Linked DNA regions of Homo sapiens: regions 2, 3 and 4 are each linked to region 1. Evidence: promoter capture Hi-C in 16 types of primary human blood cells and fetal thymus (Javierre and others, 2016). All regions are on one chromosome and are shown on one strand. Each heading gives the region's core, a stretch centred on a gene start or on the middle of the fragment in contact. The rest is flanking DNA. Distances are from core to core; before and after follow the strand shown. Region 1 holds the start of FABP4 (fatty acid binding protein 4). Region 2 has its middle 8.6 kb from the start of FABP5. Region 3 has its middle 6.7 kb from the start of LNMICC. Region 4 has its middle 30 kb from the start of LNMICC.

Region 1 (5,328 bases), core at 719-3,218:
TGATATCATTGCTAATAATTTATAGGGGATATTTAAAAGGGACTAGTCATCAAATTGTGAAAACTTTAACATTTAATAAATCACTATTTCTTAGTTTAAAATAGGTTAGAAGCCAATACTTTGATTTCCAGTCACCTAAGTTGTGAACTTTTCTTTCTTAAAAAGGGGAATATATTTTCTTGTGCAAGGTATGGAATGAATAATTTACAGCCTAACATAGCAGTAACTTGCTGACACTGTGTATGTCATGCAGAGTTTATGGCAGTCATAGATTTGCTGAATTTTTTAAACATGTGCATGTAAATCTAAGCTCTTTCTTTGACTAAAGGCAACCAAAGGTTAGAAATTGGGAAGAACTGGGAGAGATATATGGCGCAAAATAAGTAATGCTGAGGCTCCGATTTGGCTGTCTGTCTGAAAAATGGCCACAGGTGTGTCTTCATGTCCTGGCTCAGTTACAAAATATAACATTAAATGTATGAAGTGAGTCCACTTCGTGAATGCAGGCAAAACTGAGTGTGATTCTAGAATGACTGACCTTGGGAAAAACCAGTCTCCATTTGCTTGATTTTGCTTTTATTTGATGATGAAGACAATACCTGCCCACTCATCCTCAATTACAGCAGCTAATTTCATGCAGAAGGTGTTTTATTGACTTTAATTATAATCAGCCCTTTATAATTTAAAAACACAGTATTATTAGAAAATATAAATATTAAAAGTATAACATTTTTCTAAAAATAAATAGTTAAATGGCCCCAAATCCTGGCTTTTCTGCATCAGTGCATATTAATTAGTTTATTGAATCACTCTAGTTTATTCTAGAAAGTCTCTCTCATGCTGAAGTCACCAATTTCCCTATCATCTAAAAACAAGAAACATAGTTACAGACAAGCAAAAAAATATATACTGTATAATTTACAGGAGGGTTAAGTGTTTTGCGATTTAATGATTACATTCTAAACCCTAAGATTGCATAAAATTCCTCCCCAGTTTGCTAACCCCAGTTCTGACTTTATTGGACTGTCATGCATGGGGTTGAGGGAGAAAGGTTTTCAAAGTAGAAGCTGCCTGAGTGAGAAGTTGTCTTTTCTGATTTACCTCCATAGTTATCTGAGAGACATTCATCCAATGACATGCTGACAGTTAACAGCGTCTAAAAAATTAAAAACCTCTACTATCAAAGAAGAGGTATGTTATATGCGTAACATTCTCCTTTTAAATTGGTTGATAATTCTATGGCATACTATGTCATTTCTAGTCAAAGGAAGTATTTAAGCCATTTAAGAAACATATTTTCTGAAATTAAAATTTTTGTCTATCATAAAACAACCACATATTTTAATAGATTAACATTGAGACAAGAAAATAATTGGCTAACATACGGTTACTGAAAAAGAACCTTGCATTAAGGGAACTAGAGTGCTTTCAGTTTGAAATGAAAATTATTGCATACTAACTTTTTTCCAAGTTATTGCTTAATTTACATGCAAAAGGGGATGAAAGAGAAACAGGCAAAGAGCTAAGTAAACCAAGGATACCCAAGTTTTTCAAATAAAGTCAAATCTTATCATTTCTAAAGACAATAAACATTCCATTTAGACACCTTTTTATATTGGTACACCTTTAGGAAACATTAGTTGTAGCTTTGGTTCAGAATTTCTCTAGAAACAAATGATTATCACTTGCTATGTGTGCAGCCTCTCTATAGAAAGCAGCATTTTTCATTTCTGGCCAGGGCTTCCAGACATTGCTATAAACACAGCTGTAAACTCTTTTTCCCAAAAGAAAATATTATAAATCCAGTCATTCCACAACGCATTTCCTTACCTACTTCTTTCATATAATCATCAAAGTTTTCACTGGAGACAAGTTTCCAGGTACCTACAAAAGCATCACACATTTTGTGAGTTTTCTAGGATTATTCTTCAAGGTGAGAAGGAAGCTGCAGTTTTCAGGAGGGTGCTGTGACCCTCTTGAGTCCAGATAACTTCCTTTTAAAGATGCTCAGAACATGTGATCTTAGGAATGACCAATTGGGAATGAGATCCAATCATTTCCTTCATTACCGGCCTCTGCATTTTTTTCTCTGAGTCATGTTTTTAATAGAAATTTCTCAACTTTGGTTCTCCCTGGCAAATAGTCACTGGACTTAGAGTACAAATTATTTTTAAACCACTAACAGGATATTTTAAACATTCCTGTTTTGACAGCTTAATGCTCAGTGCACTGAATTTCCCCCTATTATTCCTATACATATTTATCCCAGTGTAGAGAGGGGAAATTATTTTGAGATAAACTTCGACCTTATTTTGTGTGTGTGTGTGGGGTGTTATTTAAATTGCAGTTATGTGGTTCTTTTGAATTGAGGAACATAAGAACTGCCTCGGAGATTCTTACATAATTGCAAAGGCTCTTCGGGACACTCCTGTCTCAGGAATTACCTGGCGATTAAAACAAAATAAATAATGGGATTTAAAAGTACTCCAGATTTCTGATTTCAAATGTTTTATATGAATAAAAAAGTACATTCAATTCATCCACCAGTAATCTGGACTGTAGATTTAATCGAAATGATAATTTAACCTCACTCTTTCCATCTCCTAAATGAGAGCATAGCATTGATTTCCACAGATCCTTTGAAAAATAGGCCTTATTCTAAAATACTTTCCTCATATTGAGAAACTGCATTCAATTTCTGAACTGTATTATAAGTTCTGAATTTATTCAGATCAGAAATGGTGTGTGGTCACAAGCTACCAAAACCAATATCCTTCTTTTATACAGTGACCAATCTGTGAAACTAGTTTTCTAAAGTAATCGTGGTTTTCAATTCCCTTTGCCTCATGCAAGAATGACAGAAGTTGTTCACATGTGCTGCAAATTCCCACGAACATACCCAGATTTAGGGGAAAAAAAGAAACTAAAATATTTCAGAGTGATGCATCGCTACACTGTGTATCCCACTGAACAGTACCTGCTGAGCATGTGATTGATTCACAAGCCTGTGTAAGTGTCCTGAGGGCTTCCCAAAAATGTTTGTGGCAGGAAATTCTGTAAGCAACAGGATTTTCTGTAGGAAAGCAAGTTGCTATGAAAGCCTGATAAAGTTAGGTTTTGCATTTGTTAATGGCACAGTAATAACGCTCATCTACTCTGGACTGTTGCATAGATACACAGACTGTGGTGATGTACCATCCAGGTAGGCTTGCTATTAGTGATCCACCTGTTTCCCATTGAATAAGACTGTTCAGATGGAAAGTAAATAAAAGTGACAAATCTTAATAGAGGGATGTTTTTGATAATGTTTTAAATTAATTTGCTTCCTACAGGTTTTTAAATGATTGAATTTGAATACATACTATGTGTATTCTAACACTGCAATTTGGTTTTTTAAAATTTTTGTTTCTATAGATTTCGGACTACATGTGCATTTTTGTTACATATGTATATTGAGTTGTAATAAAGTCTGGACTTTTAGTGTAATCATCACCCAAATAGTGTATATTGTACTCAATTGGTAATTTCTTTCTTTTTTTTTTTTTTTTTTGAGATGGAGTTTTGATTTTATTGTCCAGGCTGGAATGCAGTGGCGCGATCTTGGCTCACTGCAACCTCTGCCTCCCAGGTTCAAGCGATTCTCCTACCTCAGCCTCCCTAGTAGCGGGGATTACAGGTGCCCACCACATGCCTGGATAATTTTTTTTCTCATATTTTTAGTAGAGACAGGGTTTCGCCATGTTGGCCAGGCTGGTCTTGAACTCCTGACCTCAGGTGACCCACTCGCCTCAGTCTCCCAAAGTGCTGGGATTACAGGCGTGAGCCACTGTGCCCGGCCCTGATAGGTAATTTCTTATCCCTTGCCCCCTCCCACCTTCCCACCTTCCCACCTTTTGGAGTCTCCAATTGTCTATTATGCCACTCTGTACGTCTGTGTGTACACATTGTTTAGCTCCCACTTATAAGTGAGAATATGTGGTATTTGACTTTCTGTTTCTGATTTATTTCACTTAAGATAATGGTCTCCAGTTTCACCTATGTTGCTGCAAAAGAAATGATCTCATCCCTTTTTATGGCTGAGTGGTATTCCATGGTAAATATATATCACATTGTCTTCATCCAGTCATCCACTGATGGACACTTAGGTTGATTCCGTGACTTTTTTATTGTGAATAATTGTTTTAGAGATTGACTCTCTGGTAGTGTAATCTCCGGTCACATGTGGCTCTTAAAATGTGGCTAGTATGACTGAGAAATTGAATTTTTAATTTTACTTAATTTTAATTAAAATGAAAGAAATGATCCTCAATTCAGTTACTGAAAAACTTTTAAATATGTTTGAACCAATGTGGCTATGTCAATCTACTTTTTCAATTGTAAATTTTATGAAATCTAAATGTTGGACAAGTATTTCAAAAGAAAATTTAGAATCTGAATTGAGATGAACTGTTAGTATAAAATATATACCAGATTTTGAAGACAATATACAAATATATCCTATATTATTCATTTTCTTACATTGATTACATGTTGAAATGACAACATTTTCGATATGTTAGGTTAAATAGAATGTATTACGAAAATTAATTTAACCTATTTCTTTTTTACTTTCCTTATGTGGCTGCTAGAAAATTTTAGATTATATATGTGGCTTACATTATATTTCTCTTGGGCAGTGAAGTTTTAGAGTACCATGGTAACAGCAAGCTTCGCTTATTTATTCAACATGTGATCAGGCATTGTGCTAACCAATGCGGATTCAACAGTGAGCCAGCCAGGGCAGGCATTTGCTTGCTCTCAATGAGCTTATATTCTAATACTGGAGAAGGTCATATACAAAGAGACCTTGTGTATGAAATATGAAATAAATAAGCCAATCACAGGTAGTGCTGTGTTTTAGAGCAAACAGAATGGGGTACTCTGATGTAATGACCACTGTGAGGGTTGGAGCACTAGATGGGGCAATCCGGGAAAGTCTGTTAAAGAAGGTAGATAATTGAGCTGTTAGCTGAATGATGAGAAGAAGACAGCCACAGGAAGATCAGGAAAGAGACTGTATACGGGACAGAAAACTGCGGGAGCTGCTGGTTCCATTACCTTTCAGAACAATTTCACCCAAACACAGCCACCCTGACATATACAGATATATGTTCCTGGTGAGCAAAGTCCAAGGTCCATTAAGGAAGAGACTTTTGTTCAGATTAATTCATTGTTAGATACAAAGTAATTATATATTCAGTAAAACGCCTGAAGGAAATCCTTCTTCGACGGGTTAGTGAGAGTCCACCAGCACGCCTATAAAAAACAACAAAAAAAACCTTGAAGAAT
Region 2 (5,328 bases), core at 1,135-3,634, 210 kb before region 1:
TTCAAGACTGGCCTGGCCAATATGGTGAAACCCCGTCTCCACTAAAAATACAAAAATTAGCCAGGCATGGTGGTGCATGCCTGTAGTCCCAGCTACTCAGGAGGCTGAGACAGAAGAATCACTTGAATCTGGAAGGTGGAGGTTGCAGTGAGCCGAGATGATGCCACTGCACTCCAGCCTGGGTGACAGAGCGAGACTCTGTCTAAAAAAAAAAAAAAAAGGTATAACCTGGCCACAAAGCCAGGGGATGCTTACCAAAGGCCTGATCTCTACTGGGGCAGAGCCTATATCCTGATGCACCTTTAGAAGGAAAAGAAAATCTCTCTGTACTCGTAACTGCTTGGAAGAAGATGCATTTGATTCCTATTCCCCTCCACTGGTCACCTTTCTCTTCTTGTCATCAACAGAAAAGTTCAGGTGTCTAAGTAACCTGGTTTCTTCCTCCCTGCATCAGTTTTGTTCCCTATTACTCAAAGCTCAGGGTGCAGATCTCAGAAGTAAACCAACTCAGTCCAATATTCTACCTGTCATTCGAAAGACCACCAGGATAGCTACATAGTAGAAAGGAGAGCATTATTGACAATATCAGTTTGCAAACCAGAGTCAGTGTCCGCTGTGGACCAAAGGTGCTCTCTCTTTGAAAAGGGAAAAAGCAGGTTGAATTTTATGCCTCACAGGGCCTGTATCATGCAATAGAGTCAGACATATATAGGTGCCTCAGAATACAGGCTCTGCCCCACAAAAATCTGGCCCTGGGTAAGTGTCCTCTGGCCCTGTGGTCAGGTTATATCTTGATTCCAATGGGTAACATGTACCTGGATGAAACATGAAGAAAAACATCTTAATGCACCTCCTCTCTTTTCTCTTTTTAATAGTCCCTCCCTTTAAACTCCAAGTCTCTTATGCTTCTGCAGGTTTGGGGAAAAGCTATCCATATCTCAGAGGAGTTAGGTGCATGAGCAATGGGTAAAAATGTATGGAACATATATCCCATGTTCACTTTGGGGCGGGATTTTAGCATTAAAATGGGGTGGACTTTGCTCTTTACATCAAAAGGTGAACTATAGGACACAAAGACAGTTTGTGCATCTCTATTAAACTGGCTGAAACTGGCTTGAGGCCTGCAGTCGCTTATCAGGAAAGAATGTAAGGTGTGTCCTCTGTTCAATTAAAGTTGTGGTGGTCTGGGATGTAAATCAGAGTTAAGAAGGTTCTGATAATTTGCCTGATTCCTCTTGTTGTTAAGGAGTTTAGCAAAGGTGTGGTTTTCCTTAAAGCTGTAGGAATTTAGGACAATACCATGCTAGCTGAGCCCTGAACCCTCAACCTGTAGGGAACTTGTTTCAACTTTAAGGTCTGGTTTAATTGATAAAGGGGCATCTACTTTGGCCTCCCAGGTCATATATACAAAGCTTTCTCTAAATACTGTACCTTTGGTCTGCATTCACTTTCCGAACCTCAATAGAACATGTCCAGAAGACCTTTATTAAGAGGTAAGTTTTCATGCATAGATGTCCTCCATGAACAACTGATATGTATGTTCTTCGAGGCCATTACTAGTTATGTACTATATTTCTTCATTCCCGCAGAACATTGTCTTGGTGATAGAATCAAATACTTTGGAGGCTGAAGATTATCATCAGCATTTTCCTAGAGTATTCTTCAGAGCATTCTAAGTGCTGCTAAAAGGATGGCAGCAAACAAGGCAGGTTTTGCAATCAATCCATTTGTAGAGATGTTGCTCTTAAAATGTTAAATGTATTTTTTAAGTTCAAGATTTCCTGGCATTGTTAGTATGCTCATACAAGCTGGAAATATCCAATGGGAATCATGGTATGCCCAATTTCCCTAATTTGTTTGATAATGGAGTCTGTATTCAAAAAACTCCTCACAGGAAATTTTAATTTCTTCTGTTCTTCTAAGGTTACAGATGAGAAAACAAAAATTTAAATTTAAACAGGTATTTTGTAGCAAAGTCTAGAACAAGGGTTTCCTATATCCTAGGTCACTGCTTTTACTTTTTATGTATTTAGAGCAGATATTTAATAAAATTATTGTTTTACAAATGATACTAATATTTATTTGCCTGACTATTTTAACGTTATGGCCTAGAATTATAATAGAGACAAAAGTTGCTATGTCCAATTTGATTCTTAAAAAATCTTTTAAGATTGTTTTCAATTCAAGTGAAGACAAAGGGGAATTGAGGACACAAAGATAATAGTTTTTTAAAAAATACTTTAAAAAAAGATATATACTTTTTAAGATTTTCTAAGAGACCAAAAAGGCTCTGCTACAGTTTAAATAGTGAGCAAATTATGCATGTTTGTGTAAGTATATGACATATTATTATGACATATGGTTTTCTTGAGGAACAAGGGGGGAGGCCAAGCAATGGCACAATTACTTGCAGTGTTACATTTCTCATGTCTATTTATAATCCATACTCTAGTATTGTTTGAACTATGAATTAATAACTATTATTTTCATAGGCCAAATACGAATTGAAAGAAATAATTTAATTTTTAGGTTAATCCCCTTATTTTTTCATTTTCATTTTTCTTCCCATAAAGTATTTTAAAGAATACTTAAATGATTATGGAATATATTTGGTGTTCTTGATAAACCTATAATTTGCAATTCTATTTTTGCTTACTCAGAAAATCTTTTGTCAAAGGAATCTTGATTGAGTTTTAGCTGAATTAGAAGACATCTAAAATTCCTTTAAACTCTAGGATTTTGATTCTCCTTTAGTCCTAAATCCAAGCCACTAATCTATTTTCAGAAATGAAACTATACAACTTTGAAGAATTTACCAATATGTCTGCTCAAGTGACAACTCATTGTTCTGAGATCACGTCTGACCAAGAATTACTGCCAAATACGCAATTAAAAACTGTATGTCTTGGGTGTGGGCAGCAAAGATCAAGTTCTACTTGTTCATGTGGATTAGTGACTTGGACTAGTTAGGTTCCCTCAGAGTACTGAGGCCCTAAGGCTTTGGGTGTGAAAGAACTAGAGCCTTGCCTTGGAAAACCAGAAGCAGCTGACACCTGCTTAGTAAAGCACGAAGCAAAAGGAAACCCAATACTTTTTTGTGTGTGCAGGATTTACCATCACTATTCACGTTGATTGGAAAATGACAAATAAATGTTTTGTTGAACTCTTATGTGATTTTTATTTTGTTTCTAGTTATGATTTGTATCACCACATGCTTTCAAATGGAATATTAGGCAGTTTTGATTTTCTGTTTCATATTGGGGTCAAACTTTTGTTTCTGTGACTATATCTCAGAGATGATTATGTCAACAAAATGCAAAAATGCAATAAAATGGAAAGGTATTTAATTTGAGAAAAAAGCTTTTTTTCCCATATAGTACATAACATAGAGTAACTTTCATATGCTAAATACATTCAAAGGGACACCAGTAAATGGCATTCTTTCCTGTTTATAGAAGCTGGTCCTATTCTGTCTTGACACTTATATGATGTCCTGATAACATAGCTGCAGAAGTGATAATATTTTACAACATGCAACAAATAAAACTTGTCATATAGAACCATAGTCTTCTCCCCAGGAACCACGTACAGTTTCTACTGAAAGACAAGGGCATCAGAGTATGTGTGGCAAGAAATCATTCAGCTTTGCTTCTGAGACTCTTCTCTCAATTCTCAGAAAAGGAACTCAGCAGGATTTTCTGACCCTTACTGAACTAGCCGGGTGGTGACAATTCCAGTTTTGACTTGTATTCTGGAAATTTTTATTATGCAAGTTGTATATCTCAGTATGCATCACCACCTCAGGCATAGCCTGGTGTCCGTTTACTACCCGGTTTATAGCGATGAACTAACTCTAAAGCACAGGCAGAGCTGAGTAGTGACATGAGTTGCTTCATGATTTCTAACCCAGTATTTCTCAGACAAGATCTTTCTAGCTGAGCAAAGTTTACCTCAGTTAACTTTTTGACATTTGGCACATTAATTTTAAACAAGATATATTTATTTGGTACACTCACCTGGTTTCTGTTAAAGACTCGCTTAATATTATAAAGATAAAACAATGGCCTTGACCAATGCCATGGAGTTTTCCCTCTATGTTTTCTCCTAGTAGTTTTATGTTTTCTCCTAGTAGTTTCATGTTTTACATTTAAGTATTTAATCCATTTTTAGATGATTTTTGTATATGGTAAGAGATAAGGGCCTAATTTCATTCTTCTACATGTTGATCTCCAGTTTTCTCAATACCATTTATTAAAGAGACTGTTCTTTCCTCATTGTGTGTTCTTGGCACCTTTGTAAAAAAAAAAAAAAAAAAATTAAGTTGACTGCAGATGTGGTTTTCCCTGGGCTATTCTATCCCATTGGTTGATGCGTTTCTTTTTGTGCCAGCACCATGCTTTTTCAATTACTATAGCTTTGTAGTACATTTTTGAAATCAGGTAGTGTGATGCCTCCAGCCTTTGCTATTTGTTTTTCTTGGCTAATTGGGGTCCTTTGTGGTTCTATATGAATTTTAGAATTGTTTTCTCCATTTCTGTGAAGAATGACCTTGGAATTTTGGTAGGAATTGCATTGAATCTACAGATCACTTTGGGTGGTATGGACATTTTCACAATATTAGTTCCTCCAGTGCAAGAATACAGGATATCTTTCCATTTATTTGTGCCATTTTAAATTTCTTTTATCAATGTTTTACAGTTTTCAGCATATAGATTTTTTATCTCCTTGGTTAAATTTACTCCTAAGTATTTTATTTTTATACCTACATCATAACATCACATTTTACCCCATAAATATATACAATTATTATTTGTCAATAAAAAAATTAAAAGAATAAAATAAAAACATGATTGTGTAAATGGAAAACAACAAATGTAGACTTTAAATTAACCAGTGATGATCTAAAAACCTTTCATTTATTTCTTAAATAAAATAATGTGGTTTCTTAAGAAAAAAGGCATAATGAATTATGGGGAACCTGAGGGCTTCTGTTTACCTGATATTTCAAAGACCTTCAATTTTTTAAAATTTTCAATATGTGATGAACTAAAACAGAATCAATTTTTAATAAATGTTTGTGAAATTTAAAAAACCCACAATGGATGTAGTTTTTAGCTTGTATAGACTTAGATACCAGACTTCTTGAAGATAAGAACTAGATTCTATCCACATAATTACTAGGTGTTCTAAAAATATGGGGTGATTTGAGACAAAGGAATGTGTCTGGTATGGACATCTCTGCTGGCCATTCTTTTGTGAGCAAGCAAAGCTGTCCCTGCATGACATATTTGTATGATACCTGAGTAGGGTAATACTGAACATGGCGCT
Region 3 (5,328 bases), core at 1,125-3,624, 200 kb before region 1:
TTCTTTTAAGAATTAGCCACAGCTAGCAGTCAGTGGAGGTTTTCAACTCGCTGATACTCTAGTCCTGTCCTGTCCAATACATAGCTATGAGTCACACATGGCTATTGAACCTTTGAAGTGTGACTAGTCTGAATTGAGACGTACATAGGGGATTTCAAAGGCTTAGTACAAAAAGTAAAATGCCTTATTAATGATTTTTTTGGTATTGATTGCATATTAAAGTAAATATATATTTGTAAAGTTAATTTTACCCATTTACTTTTTTAATGTTTCTAGGGAAAATGTAAAAATTGCATGTACTTTCATTTCAGTCATGCTTATTTCAGTCTCTATGCTGGGGTTCTTTCATCCACATTTTCCGCTTCTCATAATTATGTATATTTATTGACATTCTCTCTGAACCAAACATGATTATGAGAAGTGGAAAATGTGGATGAATGAAGAACCCTAGCATAGAGACTGAAATAAGCATGATTGAAATTCACATAGAAAGGAAGTCTAAATCAACACTGTCCAATAAAAAATACGACACAAAAATGAAAGTTAGCACGGGACCCATAATATAGTAAAGGCTTAATGTCCCACCAGCACTTCCCAATATAACTTTATGTGACATGGAAATGCTCTTTAATATCTGCACTGGCCACTAAGGTAGCCACTAGCCGTAAGTGAGTATTGAGCATTTGAAATGTGGTGAGTGCAACTGAGGAACTGAATTTTTAATTTAGTTTTTATTAACTAAAATGTAAATTTAAGTACCCACATGTAGTTAGTGACTGTTAATTTGGACAGCATGGGATGTTTCCAAAATTGAAATTCTTATGTTTTAAACTTTCAAACCGATTCCTCTTGCAGTATTCTCCCTCTCAATTCATGGGAATGTCATGTTTCCAGTGTTCAGGCTAAATGTCTAATCTTTGATTATTTCTTTACCATCTTATATCTAATCAATTAGCAAATTATTTGTTTTACCATCAGAATATACCTAGAATTCAATTGCTTGTCACTTCTTTCACAGATACCACCCTCATTCAGTCATCACCATCATCTCTCCCCTTCTCTGCCATTTTGCAACTTTATTCTCCCAAAGCTATCATTTTAAAACACAGGTTACAACATGTCACTCCTCTGTTGAGAACCCTCCACTGGCCTCTTACTTCCCTAGGAGTAGAAGCTAAGATCTTCATAGAGTTTCTATGTGATTTGCCTGTGTCTTCCACCTTCCCAGTGCCCCCTCCTGATTTCATTTCCTGCCACTGTCCTCTCAAACATTCCCTCAGACCTTGGCCAATGTTGATGCAAATGTGCTTTTGCCTCAGGGCCTTTGCACCTGTTTCCTCTGCCTGAAACACTCTTCCCCAAGGAGGCTGCAGCCCACACTTTCTCCACTCCTTAGAGTCTCTTCCCTAAAGGTCACCCTAACAGTGAGTCATTCCCAGACCACATGATGCATCAGAGCTGCCACTCCTCCCCCACATTCTCAATTCCCCTAAGCTGCTTTATTTTTTCTCATAGTCCTCACCTTTATCATCAATTCTAACTATACATTCACTTGTTTTATTTCTTAATTTTTTTGGTTATTATCTGTCTCCCCAATAGAAAGTAAGTCTTATGAAGAAGGGACTTTGTTTCTAACAGTGCACACACTCTCTAGTATGCAATTAGGGGAGAACCCGACATACAAAAGATGCTCCATACATATTTGTTAAATGAACGAATTTGTTAATAAATTAATGGATTCCTGACATCTATTTAACACATTTTTATATTATTTAAGACCCATCATGATATTGCTTCAATTGACTTTATTTATTAAAACCATATTTCTTACCTTTATGCAAACCATTCAACTTTAATCAGGTCTTTTACCCCAGAATAGTGCGCTTGATGACTGTGGGAAAAGTATGTTTGAAATAGGAAGTAAGGAATTCAGCCGTGCTTCCAAACTGGCATGTCATGGCACCCTGGCCTACCAAAAAATAGGCTACCCAGTTTTGATCGATGTATACAATTTATTTTACTGCAGCCAAGCACTCTGCTAACAGGCAATGCCTGTCAAGCAGAACTGGACCTGAGGTGTTTGTGGAACATGGTGAAGATTAATATGATTTGCTAGAAGAAAGACAGTTTAACACAAGTCAACCTCTCACTAAAGAAAAATATACAGGAGAAAGATGACAACTTTTGTATTATGTCCTTGAGCACCATGAGGGCATCAACTGTTCTCGACAAGTGAAGTCCAAGTGCCTGCGGATGAATGGTTGTAGTGAATTGCCACTGTAAGATCTTTGCAGGCAAAATGAGGCATTGTTTTATGCTAGTAGTGATTATGATGCATCTATTGCTAACATAGTCAATGATTTCTTGAGTCTCAATCTCTTTAACTGTTTTCTCAAAATTCTGGTATTTGAAATTGTGCTATGACCATGAAAAGGTTGAGAACCATCTTTTTGGCACCTAGATTTTGAGGCTGCCAAGTCAACTTGGACTATTACTCAATTCTTGCTGCTTATAAACCAATGATTCTTAATGTCTGTTCCATTTTGAATTCACTTTTAAGTTCATGAGAATAATTATAGTGTTTCCCTGGGTTTCATGAATTCTCTGTTCTCCTTTTCTAACACTGCCCTCTTAGAATTCACTGCCATTTGATGGGTCATGGGTGAAGTGAGTTGGTAGAAAGGGCTGATGAAGCCGGTGAACTGGTTTGGAAAGCTGACACATATTCTGAAATGCTGTGAAAGGCAAAGTGGTATGACTTGCAGCTAGTCACACAGCAACTGGAAAATAATTGTAGTCTTATGATATCTGGTGTGCCAGGCTCTGTCACCAGATCATATGTAAACATTTGCTTTTGATCCAGTCTCTCTCCTCCTCCCATTGCCTCCTCCCCTTATACCTCCTTCTCCCATACTGTACGCTTGGAAAATGTCTGAAAAGAGAATAATTCTTAAGGAGCGTTTTTTAAAGGTGCTGGCAACACATGGCATGGTGAACAAGATAGAGTAGGGTGAAGGTTCTTTCTGATGGAACTGACATTCTAGTGTGAGATGATGTGTCTTAGTCTGTCCTGTGCTGCTGTGACAGAATACTTGAGACTGGGTAATTTATAAAGAACAGAAATTTATCTGTTATATTTCTCGAGGCTGGGAAGTCGAAAATTGAGGGTCCTGAATCTGGTGAGGGCCTTCTTGATACGTCATCCCAAGACGGAAGGTGGCAGGATGAGAGAGAGTAAGAGAGCAAGAGGGGGCTGAAGTCACTTTCACAACAAGCCCACTCCTGCGATAACCACCCCACTCCAGAGATAACGACATTAATCCATTCATGAAGGCAGAGCCATTGTGACCTAATCAACACTTATTAGGTCCCACCTCCCATCGGTGTTGCATTAGGGATTACATTTCCAGCACATGAACTTTGGCGGACACAGTCAAACCATAGCATGATGGAACATACATGATTCAAACAAATGGCAGGGTGATAAGTGCAGCTAGAAAAATATAAAACCAAGTAGAGTGATAAGGAGCGAATGGGGTGGAATCTGTTAGGTTGGTGCAAAAGTAATTGCAGCTTTTTGTCATTACTTTGAAGTGCAAAAACTGCAATTATGTTTGCACCAACTTAATACTTTATATGGGACGGTCAGGGAAGGCCTCTTAGAGAAGGTAGTGTTTGAACTGAGACCTGAATAATGAGAGAAGGTAGGCAAGTGAACATCTGGAGCAACAGTGTTCTAGGCAGAGGGACTAGCCGCTGCAGAAGCCCTGAGGTGGAGACCGACAGAACCACAGAATGACAGAAGATTATTGAAAGAGGAGCAATGTGGAGCAAGATGCGGTCTGAGATTTAGGTGAGAAGCAGAGTGTGTAAGACCTTGTAGCTCCTAGTGAGGGATTTAGGTTTATCTAAGGACCCAGAGAAACTACAGAAGGTGTCAAGGAGGAAGTGAGAGATGACTATTTTAACAAAGATGTTCTATTTTCACTTTTGCAATGAGATACTGATATTTGGAATAACTTACCAAAGACACTGAAAATATTGGACAAAAAAAAATTTTTTAATTGCCTTAAAGTGACAAAGAGCTGACAAAATCATGAGGAATTATGTGGCCTATTTCTGGGAATCCAGAGAAGCAACCCCAACTGACAGGTGAGTTTTACCCTGGAATATTAATTGCAGGTCTGGGAGACATGGCTGAGAGGCTGAGCTGTGCTTTCGGCAACATAGGAAACAATTGGGCCTTTGTCTGATGGTAGCTAGGCTGACTCCATCCTCTACTGTCTTGGAGAAAGTTCTCTGAATGTTGAAAATTGGGTTATAAAGATGTTCATCCAAGTGCTTTTACATTAGCAGATGATTGGCAAGCATATAACTTTCTAGAAATAGAAGACTGGTTAAATAATCATAATATAGCCATACAATAAAATATTAACTGGAATTAAAACAACAAAAAGACAATAGCTTGGAAAAAAGACTCGTAATTCACTGTAAAGTGGAAAAACCGGATATAAAATATTATGTACATATTATACCATTTGTGTAATATGGGCACATATGTGTAATTAAATACAGAAGAATGTTAACAGTGCCTATCTCTTGGGTTTGAGGTGATGTTTAATTTTTATTTGCTTATCTCTCTATAACAAAAATGCAAAAACATTTAAATGCCAATAGCTTTGTTTGTATTTTTAATAATAAATTTATATTAGAAGATGTTTCAGAAAAGCATAAAGAAGTAAATAAATATCCTTGGAAGTCTCACTTCTATAGAAAATTAATACTAATATTTTGTTATGATGCATTCAAATAATTCTTCATATATTTATATGCATAAACATCCAAAACATTTTATACATGGAATCATATAACACAGTATTCTCTTGCAATTATTTGTCTTTTAAACCTGATTTAAATATAGATTCACATCCTTTTCTTTAACTTCATAACATTTAATTTTACTTCAACTCTATTATTTCTTTTATCAATTTCCTCTTGATAAATGTTTAAGCTTTGCAAAAAGTTTTGGAGTTATTAACAGTGGTTTGATAAACATTCTTTTCCATTGATGGAATATAATTATTTAAAATATTTTAAAAATATTTACCCTTTGGTTAGATCCCCTAAAGCACTCAGCCCATGGTGTGACATAAACCAAGTAATGCCTGCATGCAAACAAAGCTGGCTTCACAAAGTTGCAGAATGTAGTAGGCACCTGGTTAAGGAAAATTCTACCCACAAATTATTTTGCCCCCAACGGGCACTTTAACAGGGAACACATTTTTTCCCCCTTTTTACATTAAATATCTGAATGTTGGGGAAGGGGAG
Region 4 (5,328 bases), core at 1,669-4,168, 170 kb before region 1:
AAATGGCCTAATGCTCCACTTAAAAGATATGGAATGGCAGAATGGTTAAGAATTCACCCACCTAGTTTCTGCTGTCTTCAGGAGACTCACCTAACACATAAGGACTCACATAAAGTAAAGGGGTGGAAAAAAATACTCCATGCAAATGAACACCAAAAGTGAGCAGGAGTAGCTATTCTTATATCAGACAAAACAAACTTTAAAGCAACAGCAGTTAAAAAAGACAAAAAGGGACATTATATAATGATAAAAGGACTAGTCCAACAGGAAAATATCACAGTTCTAAATATATATGCACCTAACACTGGAGCTCCCAAATTTATAAAACAATTACTACTAGATCTAAGAAATGAGATAGAAAGCAACACAATAATAGTGGGGGTGTTTAGTACTCCACTGACAGCACTAGACTGGTCATCAAGACAGGAAGTCAACAAAGAAACAATGCACTTAAACTATACCCTACAACAAATGGACTTAACAGATATTTACAGAACATTCTACCCAACAAATGCAGAATGCACATTCTATTCATCAGCACATGGAACATTGTCCAATATAGACCATATGATAGGCTACAAAAGAAGTCCCAGTAAATTTAAGAAAATAAAAATTATATCAAGTACTCTCTCAGATCACAGTAGAATAAAATTGGAAATCAACCCCAAAAGGCAACCTCAAAATCATGAAATATGTGGAAATTAAATAACTTGCTCCTGAATGATCAGGAGCAGGTCAACAATGAAATCAAGATGGAAATTAAAAAATTTTTGAACGATAACAGTGACACAACCTATCAAAACCTCTGTGATACAGCAAAAATGGTGTGAAGAGGAAAGTTCATAACAATAAATGCCTACATCAAAAAGTCTGAAATAGCACAAAAAGACAACATAAGATCACATCTCATGGAACTGGAGAAATAAGAACAAACTAAACCCAAAGCCAGCAGAAGAAAAGAAATAACTAACATCATAGCAGAACTAAATGAAATCGAAATAAAAAAATACAAAAGATAAATGAAACAAAAAGCTGATTTTTTGAAAAGATAAATAAAATTGATAGACTGTTAGTGAAACTAACCAAGAAATGAAGAGAGAAGATCCAAATAAGCTCAGTTAGAAATGAAACGAGAGATATTACCACCAATACTACAGAAATACAAAATATTATTCAAGGCTACTATGAACACCTTTACACACATAAACCAGAAAACCTAGAGGAGATGAATAAATTCTTGGAATTATACAACCCTCCTAGATTAAACTAGGAAGAAACAGAAACTCTGAACAGACCAATAACAAGTAGCAAGATTGAAACAGTAATTTAAAAAATTGCCAACAACAACAACAACAAAAGCCCAGGACCAGATGGATTCACAGCTGAATTCTATTAGACATTCAAAGAAGAATTGGTACCAATCTTACTGAATGAAACTACTCCAAAAGATAGAAAAAGTGGGAATCCTCCCCTAAATCATTCTATGAAGCCAGTATCACTCCAATAGCAAAACCAGGAAAGGATATAACAAAAAAAGAAAACTACAGACCAATATCCCTAGTGAACATAGAGGCAAAAATCCTCAACAAAATACTAGTGAACTGAATCCAATAGCATATCAAAAAGATAATTCACCGTGATCAAGTGAGTTTCATACCAGGGATGCAGGGATGGTTTAACATACGCAAGGCAATAAATGTGATGCCTTAAATAAACAGAATTAAAAGCAAAAATCACATGATCATCTCCATAGATGCAGAAAAACATTCAACAAAATCCAGCATCCCTTTATAATTAAAACCCTCAGCAAAATCGGCATAGAAGGGACATACCTCAATGTAATAAAAAGCCAACTATGACAAACTTACAGTCAACATTATACTGAATGAGGAAAAGTTGAAAGCATTTCTCCTGAGAACTGGAACAAGACAAGGATGCCCACTTTCACCACTCTATTCAACATAGTACTGGAAGTCCTAGCCAGAGCAATCAGACAAGAAAAAGCAATGAAGGGCATTCAAATTGGTAAAGAGGAAGTCAAACTTTCACTGTTTGCTGATGATATGATCGTAAACTTAGAAAACCCTAAAGCTTCATTCAAAAAGCTCCTAAAACAGGTAAATGAATTCAGCAAAGTTTCAGGATACAAAATCAATGTACACAAATCAGTACCTCTGCTATACACCAACAGTGACCAAGCTGCAAATCAAATAAGAACTCAACCCCCTTCACAATAGTTGCAAAATGATAAAATAAAATACTTAGGAATATACCTAACCAAGTAGGTGAAAGACCTCTACAAGGAAAACTACAAACACTGCTGAAAGCATAGATGACACAAACAAATGAAAACACACCCCATGGTCATGGATGGGTGGAACCAATATTGTGAAAATGACCATATTGCCAAAAGCAATCTACAAATTCAATGCAATTCCCATCAAAATACCACCACCATTCTTCACAGAACCAGAAAAATAAAATCCTAAAATCCATATGGAATCAAAAAGAGCCTGCATAGCCAAAGCAAGACTATGCAAAAACCTATGTCTTTATTATGAATTACCTCTTTTTTAAAGTTAACTATAACATATTTTTATTACTGCAATGAAAAGGAGACTTAACAGTTACACAACCATCTAAAATACTTCTCATTTACCAATTGCCAATTATGTTCCAAATGGTGGCTTTCCACTTTATCAGCTGATCTATTCCAGGTGCTCTCAAAAACTTATAAATCCCTGAAGGACAATTTCTGAACAGCAACTAGAAGTGAACAAAATAGCAAGAAACACTATACTCATAAAGTACTTTCCTATCACATTTTTCCCTCATCCTGGAAAAACGTTTTTTCTCCCATTGCTGATCTAAGCATCTCTTTATAATGCATGCCATCTACCTTTTTGGACTTATTTTCAGCTGGCAGATAGAAGCAAACTATATCCATTAGATTTCTGCAGCTTCTTCATCATTGGTTTTATTCATATGACACAATTAATATGTGGTCACCCACTTGGCTCTTAGGAAAGTATGACCCTGGTTTAAGGCCAGAATTTTTTCAGGAAAGAGATAGGTAGATTCTGATAATTAGAGGCTTGCTGTTGAATACTTTCCAGCCCTGCAAACCAATACTTGTTGTTTATTGAAAATCTGAAACCTGAGATTATGGCAGTACCCCAAGAGACTGTCATTTTTTTTTTACTGTTGTGGGGAAATAAGACCTCCAGAACTTCTCTCTGTTAATCAGTTCAGGGTCTGGAAAATATACCCTTGGAATATATACACGCACATACACACACATATTTATTTATAAAATCAAAATATGTATCATAATATATCATTGGGATATATATCTATATATAATATAGATATATCATATGTGATATGTATGATAGAAGTTGTAGGCTCAGTCCACGCTTAACTTGGAACCTTATAATCTTATTTCAGAAAGCCCTAGGGTAAGTGGAAGAACATCATGACACATGTGGATACAACTTTGTGATGTAAACTAGATTAACAGGAGGTGTCAGTGGATTGGAGAAGTATATGCAGTGTATAGCGAATACAGAAGCAGGTCAGCTCCTGCTGCTTCAGCTGAAGTCCAGTACCCACGCCACTCACTTGCTGTTTAGCTCCAAGTTCTGAATCCCTGCCACCAACCTGCCATTTTGTCCCTGGTAATATAAGCAATCCAAAACCATGGTTTTGAACTTAGTTGCTGGTAATTTGGTTGGCTAGATTTCCTGAAAGCTTTCCAGGTTTTCACCTTCAATCACCTAAATATGCTGGATAAAAAAGAAAATAAGTCATTTTAAACCCACAGTTAAGCCAAGAAGAAAGTATGCGTCATCTTCAAAGTGCAAAAATGAAGCAGGGGCACCAATCCAGAGTTGAGCCTTTGCTGATACACGCTGCATGACTAGATTCTAGTCTTTCTTATAAACTAACCGTATCCCCTCCTTTGAGTAATGTGAGAGGACGTTCAGATATTCTATAGTTTTTGAATGAGCATCTATTACATACCAGGTGCTATTTTGTGTTATCGTATGTGTACCTGTCACAATAACCTTAGGGAACAAAGTCAGGGGCCCAGGCAGTTTGAACAGGTGGATTGCAGATCCCTGAATCAAATTCAGACACCACAAATAGCTGTTCCTCACTAGAATTGTGGATGGGAATAAAATATGTCCTGAAAATAGACTTTTTTTTTCTTGGTTTTGGATAAAGAAAAAAAATATCGTGGAACTGAAAGCAAGTCTTGCTGCACAAAAACATGTTATTCTTCCTGTTGATTTCTTGAAAAAGAGCCTAATTTTTATGTCACTGAGAAAATAGTTTAACACAGTGGCTGGAGTTTTAGCTGATGGATCACAGATTTCCTGGGGGTAGGAGTAGGAGTTCACACCCCAGATACCTTTATCTACATCACTTCCTCCCCGGCATAATATAAGTAAGATAATGCCTGGGAAATCCTTCAGGGACCCAGGCTGTCCAAAATTTCATAGGTAATTGCAAATTTTGAATCTCTCAATGAAAACTGCTGTTTAATATTTAAGTATAAAATATTTGAATGTTTGTATTTAAATCAGAAATAGAAAATGAGGTATTGCATTAGACTGCTAGCAGACTAAGTTCCTGACAAGCCTGGAGGTAGCATACTGTCCACCCATACATTTGGAGCCCTGGGCAGTGGGGAAATGTTTCTGGGTTGCACAAGTCCCACTTGGACCCCTGTGATCTGCTTCCTGGGCTGCTTCCCAGTACGTGCCTCAACAGAAAGGCTGTCAGTGTGTTACAACCACTATTGGTTCTTGTTCCTCTTTTGACAGGTGTGAGAATGTCTCTATCCCCTCCAGAGCCCTACGGAGTCTTAGCTTTTTCTGCTCCTATAACAGAATACCACAGACTGGGTGGTGTTTTATAAATAAAAGAGATTTGTTTGGTTCATGGTTCTGGAGGTTGGAAAGTCAAAGGTTGAGGGGCCACATATGCTGAGTGCCTTCTTGCTGTGTTGTAACATGGCAGAAAGTATCACATGGTGATGACAGAGTGCATGAGAGGGTAAGAGCATGCAAGACAGAGAGAAAATGGGGCTGAACTTATCTTTTCATCAGAAGCCCATTCCCTTGATAACTAACCAACTCCCACAATCACGGCATTAATTTGTTTTGGAGGGCAGAGCCTTCATGACCTAATCACCTCTTAAAGATCCCACCTACTAACACCATCACAATAGCAATGAAATTTGAACATGAGTTTTGGAGGGGCATTCAAACCCTAGCACACGGCTTCTGAGACCCATCTAGGACTTTTGAATAAAGGGGAAGT

What was found. The method cuts DNA at HindIII sites, captures the fragments that hold promoters and counts their contacts. A CHiCAGO score of 5 or more calls a contact.
Region 2: a contact is called between a fragment that was not itself captured here and the fragment with the promoter of FABP4 in region 1, in 2 of 17 cell types (M0 macrophages and M2 macrophages). The highest score is 6.7, in M0 macrophages.
Region 3: a contact is called between a fragment that was not itself captured here and the fragment with the promoter of FABP4 in region 1, in 3 of 17 cell types (M2 macrophages, M0 macrophages and M1 macrophages). The highest score is 10.6, in M2 macrophages.
Region 4: a contact is called between a fragment that was not itself captured here and the fragment with the promoter of FABP4 in region 1, in 2 of 17 cell types (M0 macrophages and M1 macrophages). The highest score is 6.0, in M0 macrophages.

What each region holds. Positions count from the first base shown.
Region 1 is chr8:81,481,265-81,486,592 of GRCh38, forward strand. FABP4 (fatty acid binding protein 4) reads right to left here and starts at 1,969. Exons shown (of 4, transcript NM_001442.3): 1 at 1,831-1,969. The coding sequence starts at 1,903. The region is part of intron 1 of LOC101927118 (a long non-coding RNA gene); the gene reads left to right. The HindIII fragment of the contact is 8,539 bases long and covers 1-4,705 here.
Region 2 is chr8:81,269,292-81,274,619 of GRCh38, forward strand. No RefSeq gene overlaps it. Among named protein-coding and RNA genes, the nearest start is that of FABP5, 8.6 kb to the right of the region's middle. The HindIII fragment of the contact is 1,948 bases long and covers 1,411-3,358 here.
Region 3 is chr8:81,285,489-81,290,816 of GRCh38, forward strand. No RefSeq gene overlaps it. Among named protein-coding and RNA genes, the nearest start is that of LNMICC, 6.7 kb to the left of the region's middle. RefSeq lists an enhancer at 2,696-2,745. The HindIII fragment of the contact is 5,269 bases long and covers 1-5,009 here.
Region 4 is chr8:81,308,309-81,313,636 of GRCh38, forward strand. No RefSeq gene overlaps it. Among named protein-coding and RNA genes, the nearest start is that of LNMICC, 30 kb to the left of the region's middle. RefSeq lists an enhancer at 4,902-5,111. The HindIII fragment of the contact is 1,659 bases long and covers 2,090-3,748 here.